Regions from separate parts of the Homo sapiens genome. Here region 1 is linked to region 2. The links are contacts of gene promoters, found by promoter capture Hi-C in human tissues and cell types (Jung and others, 2019). All regions are on one chromosome and are shown on one strand. The core of a region is centred on a gene start or on the middle of the fragment in contact, and the rest is flanking DNA. Distances in the headings are between cores, read along the strand shown.

Region 1 (5,339 bases), core at 132-2,631, 380 kb after region 2:
TAAACCCAAGAAATAAGGATACATCTGAAATAGTTATAAATACAAACAGCCAGTAAATCAGCCTTCTCTACGTGAAAGTTAGTAGGTATATCCGTCCCCTACCGTTTTATGATCTTTTTCCTCCAAACTGCTCTTGATAGGTACTGTTATACCAAATGTCACCTGTATAAAAATATAGGGCTGGGCACAGTGGCTGATGTCTTCAATCCCAGCACTCTGGGAGGCTGAGGTGGGAGGACTGCTTGAGCTTAGGAGTTGGAGACCAGCCCTGGCAACATAGCAAGACCTCGTCTCTATAAAAATTACAAAAATTGGCCGGCCATGGTGTTATGCGCCTGTAGTCCCAGCTACTCAGGAGGCTAAGGTGGAAGGATTGCTTGAGTCTGGGAGTTTGAGGATGCAGTGAGCTGTGGTCATGCCAAATGCACTCCAGCCTGGGCAACACAGTGAGACCCTGTCTCAAAACACATACACACACACACATACATGTTTTACATGTATGTTTTATATATTTATATATATATATGGGAGAGGTTTTGTCTTATTTGCATTACATGCCCCAAACACAAGATTTGACTAGTTATAACAAATATAATGAAAGGCCTGCAAATAGAGCTTATAAATTATTAAATATTTTAATGGACAAATGTATAATGGAAAGGGCAAAACTTACAGAGTTACACAGATGTGGATCTGAGCTTTGGTTTTATGTATCAATTGTATGGCCTCAAAAGAGATCTTTAACCTATGAGTCTTTGTTTTTAATCCACAAAATAATGCTAATAATCTCTCTCCAATAGAGTTAGAATTAAAAAAGACCTAACATAAGTGAACTGCCTCAGACTATATGTCAGACACACAACGGGCATACAATAAACAATAATAACAATAGCTATTATAATTAACATTTCCTCCTGACAATTCAAGACAGTTTCCTCACCTGCCTAATGAACAGGCTATCTGAAATCCAGAAGCAACTTTAAGATTATCAATAATACCGATTATCAATAATTGCAAGTTGTCTACTATATGAAAACATTCCAATTCTCCCTCTTCTACTAGCATGCGAATTGGCGGCTACACAATCAATTCACTCATTCAACAAATATCTATTGAGAACATATTATACCAGACCCTATTTTAGGTTCTGGAAATACAGCAGTGAATATACGACTGGAGAGAAACAAAAATAACTGTATGTCAAGTAATAATAGGCGCTATGAGGGGGGAAAAATGCAGGGTGAGGAGACTAAAAGACGAAGTACTTCTTTTACAGAGGGTAGTCAGGAATGCCTCTCTGATAGGTGACTACCTGAACAGCGATCTAGACGAAGTGAGAGCTAGCCATGCGGAAATCTGGGAGGAAAGCATTCCAGGCAGAAGGAACAGGAAGTTCAAGGGTCCTCAGGTGGCCTGACAGATGAAAAGAAAGGTGGCCTGTTGGCTGAAGCAGAATGAGCAAAGGAAGAAATTAGGTCAGAAGCAGTGGCAGGCCACAGCATCTAGAGCCTTATATATTTTCAACTTTGAATTTCATTTTAAGCAAAGTGGAAAGCCATCAGAGGGTGCTGAGCAGAGGAGTAATAATCATGACTTGTATTTTTTTAGCAGATTCATTAGCTCTTCGGGGGATAAGGGAAGAATATGCTGTAAGGGGAAAATATGAAAGTCTATTAAGAGGCTATGTATTGCATAAGGAAAAAATCAGTATAATCTCAAACCCAGCAACATACACTGTTAATATTTTGGTGTATTTGGTATTATTTCCTTCAGATGCTGAGGATATCCTTTTCATGCAATTAGTTTTAAAAGCTTCCCAGAAGACTTCACATTTAATAAGTTTGTGTTTGTTTTTATATGCTGTTGAATTAGTATGTCCATAAAAATTAATTCTTCCTATGATTCCAATGAGTGGTTCAAAGTTTACGATAGTAAAATGCATTGGGAAAGCCAAAATAGAGATGTTTTAAAACCAAATTTTTTTTAAATTTTATTTTAAAGACCTATGGATCTCTATTTAAGGGAATCTATTCTCCATAAAACTAGTCACCTTTATTCTTTATTATATCAGTCATTTAAGTGTAATGCCCATCTGTTCAAGTATATGTTCTACATATTTGAGCAGTATCTAAATGTGTTGCTTATATGCTTACAGGAATAGCGTCAGGTATTAATCTTAAAATCCCACATGGTGATGATGTGGAGGGCTCCCTCCCTTAGACAACACACCCTCCCACACCTCTGTCTATAGAAAATAGATTTCTTAAGCTAGAGATAAAATTAGAGGAAGAGTGGAAAGGAAATTATGTCAGAGAAGTAATGAAGTAATGAATACACAATGCCTTAAAGGCCATGGTAAGGCTTTTAGATATCTTGCTGAGCAAGAAAGGACGCCAGTCAAGATCTTGAGAATAGGAGTAACAAACTGGTATTAATTTGAAAAAGACCATTCTGACTGCTTCCTGGAGAATACATGGAATAAAGGTGGGGGTGGAGCACAGGAAGAGACAGGTTTACAAGGATACTACAATATAGGTGATAATGTGGCATTAACAACCCACCCTAAAACTTAAGTTACTTTAAACAACCAGAGACCGCCGAGGTGCGGGCTGTGAGAGAGGGAGCGTGGAGCCTCCGAGGCCGAGGACTCGTCCCAGTTTGGACAGATAGAAGATGTGAGCGCTCTCCCTCTCCCTCTCCCTCTCCGTCTCCCTCTCCCTCTCCCCACGGTCTCCCTCTCATGTGGAGCCGAAGCTGGACTGTACCGCTGCCATCTCGGCTCACTGCAACCTCCCTGCCTGATTCTCCTGCCTCAGCCTGCCGAGTGCCTGCGATTGCAGGCACGCGCCGCCACGCCTGACTGGTTTTGGTGGAGACGGGGTTTGGCTGTGTTGGCCGGGCCGGTCTCCAGCCCCTAACCGCGAGTGATCCGCCAGCCTTGGCCTCCCGAGGTGCCGGGATTGCAGAGGGAGTCTCGTTCACTCAGTGCTCAATGGTGCCCAGGCTGGAGTGCAGTGGCGTGGTCTCGGCTCACTACAACCTACACCTCCCAGCCGCCTGCCTTGGCCTCCCAGAGTGCCGAGATTGCAGCCTCTGCCCGGCCGCCACCCCGTCTGGGAAGTGAGGAGTGTCTCTGCCTGGCCGCCCATCGTCTGGGATGTGAGGAGCCCCTCTGCCTGGCTGCCCAGTCTGGAAAGTGAGGAGTGTCTCCGCCCAGCCGCCATCCCATCTAGGAAGTGAGGAGCGCCTCTTCCCAGCCGCCATCACATCTAGGAAGTGAGGAGCGTCTCTGCCCGGCCGCCCATCGTCTGAGATGTGGGGAGCGCCTCTGCCCCGCCGCCCCATCTGGGATGTGAGGAGCGCCTCTGCCCGGCCGAGACCCCGTCTGGGAGGTGAGGAGCGTCTCTGCCCGGCCGCCCCGTCTGAGAAGTGAGGAGACCCTCTGCCTGGCAACCACCCCGTCTGAAAAGTGAGGAGCCCCTCCGCCCGGCAGCCGCCCCGTCTGGGAGGTGAGGAGCCTCTCCGCCCGGCAGCCACCCCATCTGGGAGGTGAGGAGCGTCTCTGCCCGGCAGCCACCCCGTCCGGGAGGGAGGTGGGGGGGGTCAGCCCCCCGCCCGGCCAGCTGCCCCATCCGGGAGGTGAGGGGCGCCTCTGCCCGGCCGCCCCTACTGGGAAGTGAGGAGCCCCTCTGCCCGGCCAGCCGCCCCGTCCGGGAGGGAGGTGGGGGGGTCAGCCCCCCGCCCGGCCAGCCGCCCCGTCCGGGAGGGAGGTGGGGGGTCAGCCCCCCGCCCGGCCAGCCGCCCCGTCCGGGAGGGAGGTGGGGGGGTCAGCCCCCCGCCCGGCCAGCCGCCCCGTCCGGGAAGGAGGTGGGGGGGGTCAGCCCCGCCGCCCGGCCAGCCGCCCCGTCCGGGAGGTGAGGGGCACCTCTGCCCGGCCGCCCCTACTGGGAAGTGAGGAGCCCCTCTGCCCGGCCAGCCGCCCCGTCCGGGAGGGAGGTGGGGGGGTCAGCCCCCTGCCCGGCCGGCCGCCCCGTCCGGGAGGTGAGGGGCGCCTCTGCCCGGCTGCCCCTACTGGGAAGTGAGGAGCCCCTTTGCCCGGCCACCACCCCGTCTGGGAGGTGTGCCCAACAGCTCATTGAGAACGGGCCAGGATGACAATGGTGGCTTTGTGGAATAGAAAGGCGGGAAAGGTGGGGAAAAGATTGAGAAATCGGATGGTTGCCGTGTCTGTGTAGAAAGAAGTAGACATGGGAGACTTTTCATTTTGTTCTGCACTAAGAAAAATTCTTCTGCCTTGGGATCCTGTTGATCTGTGACCTTACCCCCAACCCTGTGCTCTCTGAAACATGTGCTGTGTCCACTCAGGGTTAAATGGATTAAGGGCGGTGCAAGATGTGCTTTGTTAAACAGATGCTTGAAGGCAGCATGCTTGTTAAGAGTCATCACCAATCCCTGATCTCAAGTAATCAGGGACACAAACACTGCGGAAGGCCGCAGGGTCCTCTGCCTAGGAAAACCAGAGACCTTTGTTCACTTGTTTATCTGCTGACCTTCCCTCCACTATTGTCCCATGACCCTGCCAAATCCCCCTCTGTGAGAAACACCCAAGAATTATCAATAAAAAAATAAATTAAAAAAAATAAATAAATAAAAATAAACAACCACTGTTCATTATTTCCTGCAATTGTGTGGGCCAGCAGTTTGGGCTATGATCAGCTGGAATGTTTCTCTACTAATAGCAGTCATCAGGCAGCTCGAATGGGGTGGGAGTCTAAAATCGCCTTGTTCACACATTAGGGGTTCTGGCTTCTCTTGGCTGGGCCTCTTCTCCATGTGGTCTCTCACTCAGCAGTCTAGTCTGGACTCCTTACATGATGACGGGAATGTCCCAAAAGAGCTAAGGCAGAAGATGTCTTGAGGCCTAAGTTCCAGAACTCACATATCTACCACATTCTACTGGCCAAAGCAAGTACAAGGCCAGCCCAGATTCAATGGGCGGTAAACAGACTATTTCTTGATGGAAGAAGGTACAAATTATTATTATTATTATACTTTTTTTTTTTTTTGGAGACAGAGTCTCACTCTGTGGCCCAGGCTGGAGAGCAGTGACATGATCTCAGCTCACTGCAACCTCTGCCTCCAGGGTTCAAGCGATTCTCCTGCCTCAGCCTCCTGAGTACCTGGGATTACAGGTGTGTGCTAATTTTTGTATTTTTAGTAGAGATGGGGTTTTGCCACGTTGATGAAGCTGGTCTCGAACTCCTGACCTCAGGTGATCTGCCCACCTCGGCCTCCCAAAATGCTGGGATTACAGGCGTGAGCCACTGCACCCAGATGGT
Region 2 (5,103 bases), core at 2,067-4,566:
AGATTTTAACTACAAAATAAAATACAAAAGCAGCTTTTCGAAAATGGTGTTGGTATGGTTTTTCCAATACAAAAAAGAACACCTCTCCCCTAACCCCAGCTTCCCGAAATCCTTCCTCTGTTTATGGTCAATTTATCAGCTTCAATCCCCACCCTACCCCACCCCTTGGTGGAGTTTAGGAGCCCAAGGCTGGCTATTTACAACATAGCATTTAAAATAACAAGGAATCTTATTGTAAAATCATTCCCCTCCCACCAAAAGAAAGCCCCTCCCACCAACCCTGTGATTTGCTAAGGAACATGTACAGCTCCAATTTACACTTAAACTATTTCAAACTCGATGGAGAAGCCAGAAGAATCCCTTCCAGTTCTATAATTCAATGATTCTAGTAATTCACCTTGGTAATTTTGCAAGACAGGCTAGCCTCTGCTCAGATACCTTAAACTGCCTGAGATTTGGAAAGTTATTAAATGTTCACCAACTTATATTCAAAGGAATGCTGGTATATTCATTACACTATTATTATATTCAGTGCCTTCTATACCTGCATGAGACAAAATTTTGTGAGACACTGACTTGTTAATTACAGTTAAATAGACGTCATAAACAGTTTATACGTTCTCATTTTGGAATATTTTTTCTGTTACTACCTTATTACAACGGTTGTTACAGAAAAAAAAAAAACATACAAAGCAGCTTACCAAAAATATACAACAAGATTTAGCACAAATTTCCTAATAATCAGCCATGAGTTACTTTTTCCATGATTAAGGGAAGGCCCCTCATCTTCTAAGTTAAAATTTTAAGCAAAACACTTGTGCAAGATCACACACATTTTTGTGATTTCCCATTCAAATTTCAGTATATTTGTTTCTTATTAAAATACGGGCAAACTTTCCTTTAAAAATGTACGTATTTGTTGAATACTTTGTGAAAAGAGCTGTTCAGCTATTAATTTGAATTTTTTACCGGCCAAATGTATACTCTATGGCTTAGTAGTTAAGGTGAAATAATTTTTTTAATGCTATTACATTAAAAACACTCTTGGCTGGGTGCGGTGGCTTACGCCTGTAATCCCAGCAGTTTGGGAGGCTGAGGCGGGCGGATCACAAGGTCAGGAGATTGAGACCATCCTGGCTAATACAGCGAAACCCCGTCTCTACTAAAAATACAAAAAATTAGCCGGGCGTGGTGGCACACGCCTGTAATTCCAGCTACTCGGGAGACTGAGGTAGGAGATCGCTTGAACCCAGGAGGCGAGGTTGCAGTGAGCCGAGATCGCGCCACTGCACTCCAGCCTGGGCGACAGAGCAAGACAACGTCTCAAAAAACAACAACAACAACAACAAAAAACACTCATATCCATCCTAGAGAAGCGTGAAAATGTAAAAGTTCTTGTTCAAAATTCTTGTCAGGTGGGGCGCGGTGGCTCACGCCTGTAATCCCAGCACTCTGGGAGACGGAGGCAGGTGGATCACCTGAGGTCAGGAGTTCGAGAGCCAGCCTGGCCAACACGGCGAAACCCGTCTCTACTAAAAAATACAAAATTAGCTGGGCTGGTGGCGCGGGCCTGTAATCCCAGCTACGTGGGAGGCTAAGGCAGGAGAATCGCTCGAACCTGGGAGACGGAGGTTGCAGTGAGCCGAGATCGCGCCACTCCCCTCCAGCCTGGGAGACAGAGCGAGATCTTGTCTTAAAATAACAACATTTTTGTCAAAAAAATCTGCAAGTTAAGTTCTTTCATGGTGATCCTCGCAAAATAGCATTTCTCATCCAAAGGCCTCAGAACAGCCGCCAGCCGCCGAGCTAACTCGGGACCCTGTTACCGGCTGCTTGGCGCCCTGGTCGGGTGGGTTTTACCTTCTTCAGGGTCCATTCCTCGCCTCGCCCCCCGTTCCCAACCCTCGGGACACTGGAGACTTGCATTTCACAAACGGGTTTGCTCCAGGCCGCACTCCATCCCCGAGGGAAAGCTCCCCAGAAGTTCTGGAGTTGGGCTGAAGGATGTGATGGCAAGATGTGAATGATGTCAGAATCCCCATCTCCAGAGTCCGGCTGGGGAGCTAAGCGCAGGTGAGCTTACATCAGAAGAGAAAGCCAAACCCCCCACACGTCGCTAAACTAGGGCACGGGAATGGCGTGTTATGCAACGGCCGCCGTTCGCGTGGCCACGAAAGCGCTCCTGCGCCTCGGGCCGCGTCCCGCCAAGACCGTGAGCAAACTCGCAGAGTTGGCGCGGCAGCCGGCCGGGAGACGCCGAGCAGGGCCTGGCCGCCCGCAGCCCGGGAGGAACGGCGCCCCCAGGGTCCGGTGGCCTCTGAGGGGCTGACTGGCCCGTGAGCCGGCGGCGCGGCCGCGGGGAACGGGGTGGGAACCGCGCGGCAGTGGGTGAGGCGGCGCAGCCACCGGGGGCTGAGGGGCGGCGCGGCCTCGACTGCGGCACCGCCGTGGGTCCGTCGGCTCGCGGGACGACGGGGCGGCCGGCGGGGGCCAACAGGGCGGGCTCTGAAGGACTGATTGGCCCGTGGGACGATGGCGCGGCCGGGAGGATGGCCCCGGATCCGTGGGACCGCTGCGCCGCCGGACCGGGGGTCCCGAGGCTGTCAGGGGCGCCCGGCCGGGCGTCTAGTGAAAAGCCGATCCCCCGGAGACAGCGGAAGCAGAGGCGCGCCCGGCGCTACGGCCTTTCGGGTCTAGGACACCGCCCCCGGCCCGCGCCGCCCCTGCCCCGCCGGGATCCCGGCCGCCCCGGTCGCCGCACAACAAAGCGGCGCAGCCCCGCTGCCCCCGCCCGACGCCGGCCTCCAACTTCCCCGGCTCCTCTGGAACCGGCTCCGCGGGCTCCGTACGGCCTGGACTACGAGCCGCCGGGCGGGGGCGGCTCCGGGCGGGCGCGGACCGTGGGGGCAGGGCGCAGGGCTCCGTCCGGACAAACTTCCTCGGCCGCCCCGCCGGGCGCCCTTCCCGGAGCCTCGGCACCACAGTAGGTGCGCGGAGCCGCAGGGCTCGACCGCTTCGCGGAAACTCTCGCCACCCTCCGAGCTGCCGCCCCGACCCCAGCTCCCAGCCCCCTCACCTCCAGGGGCGCGGTCTACACCCTCGGGGGCGTCCTGGCCGGCGGCTCCCGGGCCTCTCGCGCCGGGAGACCGGGCACTGGTGGCTGGAGCTGCTGCTGGCCCCGCAGGGACGGGGGAGCCCCGGGCGGCGGCGGTGGCGTGGACGGCGACTGCTCCATCTTCCCGGGGCGCTCACGCCGCGGTTCCAAAGCGCAGACCCAAGTGGGACATTCGCTACATTGTTGGCATTCCACGGGCGTCACGTGACCCCGCCTCCCGCGTCACTCTCGGCCGCATACCAGTCCGGGCGGGGCGCCTGCGGCCCCTGCTCCTCCGCGGCCGCTCCGCCCAGCCCCGCCCGGCCGTGCTTCCTGCCTCCGGCCTCGACCGCCACCTGCCCACGGCCTCCCTGCTGGCCTGCGGTAGCTCGCCAGGGCCTCTCGGACCTATTTGACTGGCTGCTATCTGCCCCCAAACTTGAGTATTTGCCCTCTCGACTGCATTTGTATTAAAAGTTGGTAACTGTCGTTAAAGCCACTATTCTTAAGTATCTCATACCAGTCTTGGTGAAAGAAAAAAAAAAGTTAGCAGGCCTGAAGGAGCCACCAAGTTACCAACTAGTGGCTGGACACTAAAAATAGGGGCAGAAAAGGACAGACGGCTATTGGGACAGTGGAATCAAACAATTAAGAAGGACGTTTGCCAGAAGCGGTGGCTCACGCCTGTAATCCCAGCACTTTGAGAGGTCTAGGCGGGTGGATCACCTGAGGTCGGGAGTTCGAGACCAGCCTGACCAACTTGGAGAAACCCCCGTCTCTATTAAAAATACAAAATTAGCCAGGCGTGGTGGCTCATGCCTGTAATCCCAGCTCTTCGGGAGGCTGAGGCAAGAGAATCACTGGAACCCGGGAGGCGGAGGTTGCGGTGACCTGAGATCGCATCATTGCACTCCAGCCTAGGCAAGAAGAGCAAAACTCCGTCTCAAAAAAAAAAAAAAAAGAACGTCTGATGCACACCCAAATTTAACCTGATTTAATTTAATCAACCTCCCCTCCCCATGTATATTTTCTTTCTGAGAAGTATTTTATGGTGTAGGGAATAGTATAGTACCGTATATACCAGCAAGTGAGGTCGTGGGTTTTGAACAGCTTCACTATCCATTTGAGGACTGTGGATCTGGTACAGGGACAGAAGCAGGGATGGTGCAAAGATTCACAGTAGAAATAATAGACTGGAAGCCAAATCCTCAGTCTACTTCTGGCTCTCCTAACATCATACTTCCTACCACCTATATCTGTGGCAAGTGATGCTGAGGGTCAATATAGTGTTTAAAGTCAACTCGATTTCCTCTTTAATTGACAAACTCTTGTGAAATTTTTAAATTTTACTCTCATGGGAAACAGTAGTAAAGGTCATTATCTGTGCACTATTTTGACAGTCTCACCCAGCCTTCAGTCCCTGGTTCATCCTCCTCCCCTCCCTCTCTTTCAATCTCTTAAGGCCTCAGCTCTTCCAGGGAATCTTCTCAGATCTCTGTTTTCTCTCTTCTTTGGGCTCTGATAATCAAACCGTAATCCCTTCCTGCCAGCAGAAGTGTGCAAAAAAAAAAAAAAGAAACCATCATCGTGCAGCTTAGAATTCAATTTAATTTTTCGATAGTATCCTGTATGCTACCCAGATATCTTGCACAGTACTGGGAGCAAAATAAGTCTCCAGCCAATATTCTGCAATTGAGCCCTACTGGCATTACCTATGTACTTTTCCACATTTTTTCCTTTTTTTCTTAGAGACAGAGTCTCACTCCATTGCCCACGCTGGAGTGCAGTGGCACAATCATAACTTACTGCAGCCCACATCAGCCTTGAACTCCTGAGCTCAAGCCATCCTCCTGCCTCAGCCTCTAGGGTAGCTGGGAACACAGGCGCACACCACCATGCTTGGCCTTCTTTTCACTCTTAAGCTGACTATACTTTCTCCACCCCAACCCCAAGCCACATGGCTGCTAATCTTTTTTTGTTGTGTGTTTAAAGATCCTGCTCCTGCTCTG

What was found. Contacts are between HindIII fragments. The study calls those that stand out against the background at their distance.
Region 1: a contact is called between a fragment that was not itself captured here and the fragment with the promoter of LATS2 in region 2, in 1 of the 25 tissues and cell types used here (dorsolateral prefrontal cortex).

The regions. Positions count from the first base shown.
Region 1 is chr13:21,444,596-21,449,934 of GRCh38, forward strand. The region is part of intron 1 of ZDHHC20 (zDHHC palmitoyltransferase 20); the gene reads right to left. Among named protein-coding and RNA genes, the nearest start is that of ZDHHC20, 12 kb to the right of the region's middle. The HindIII fragment of the contact is 8,751 bases long and covers 1-5,339 here.
Region 2 is chr13:21,058,270-21,063,372 of GRCh38, forward strand. LATS2 (large tumor suppressor kinase 2) reads right to left here and starts at 3,317. Exons shown (of 8, transcript NM_014572.3): 1 at 3,077-3,317. RefSeq lists an enhancer at 1,784-2,676 and silencers at 2,182-2,591, 2,732-3,531. The HindIII fragment of the contact is 21,659 bases long and covers 1-5,103 here.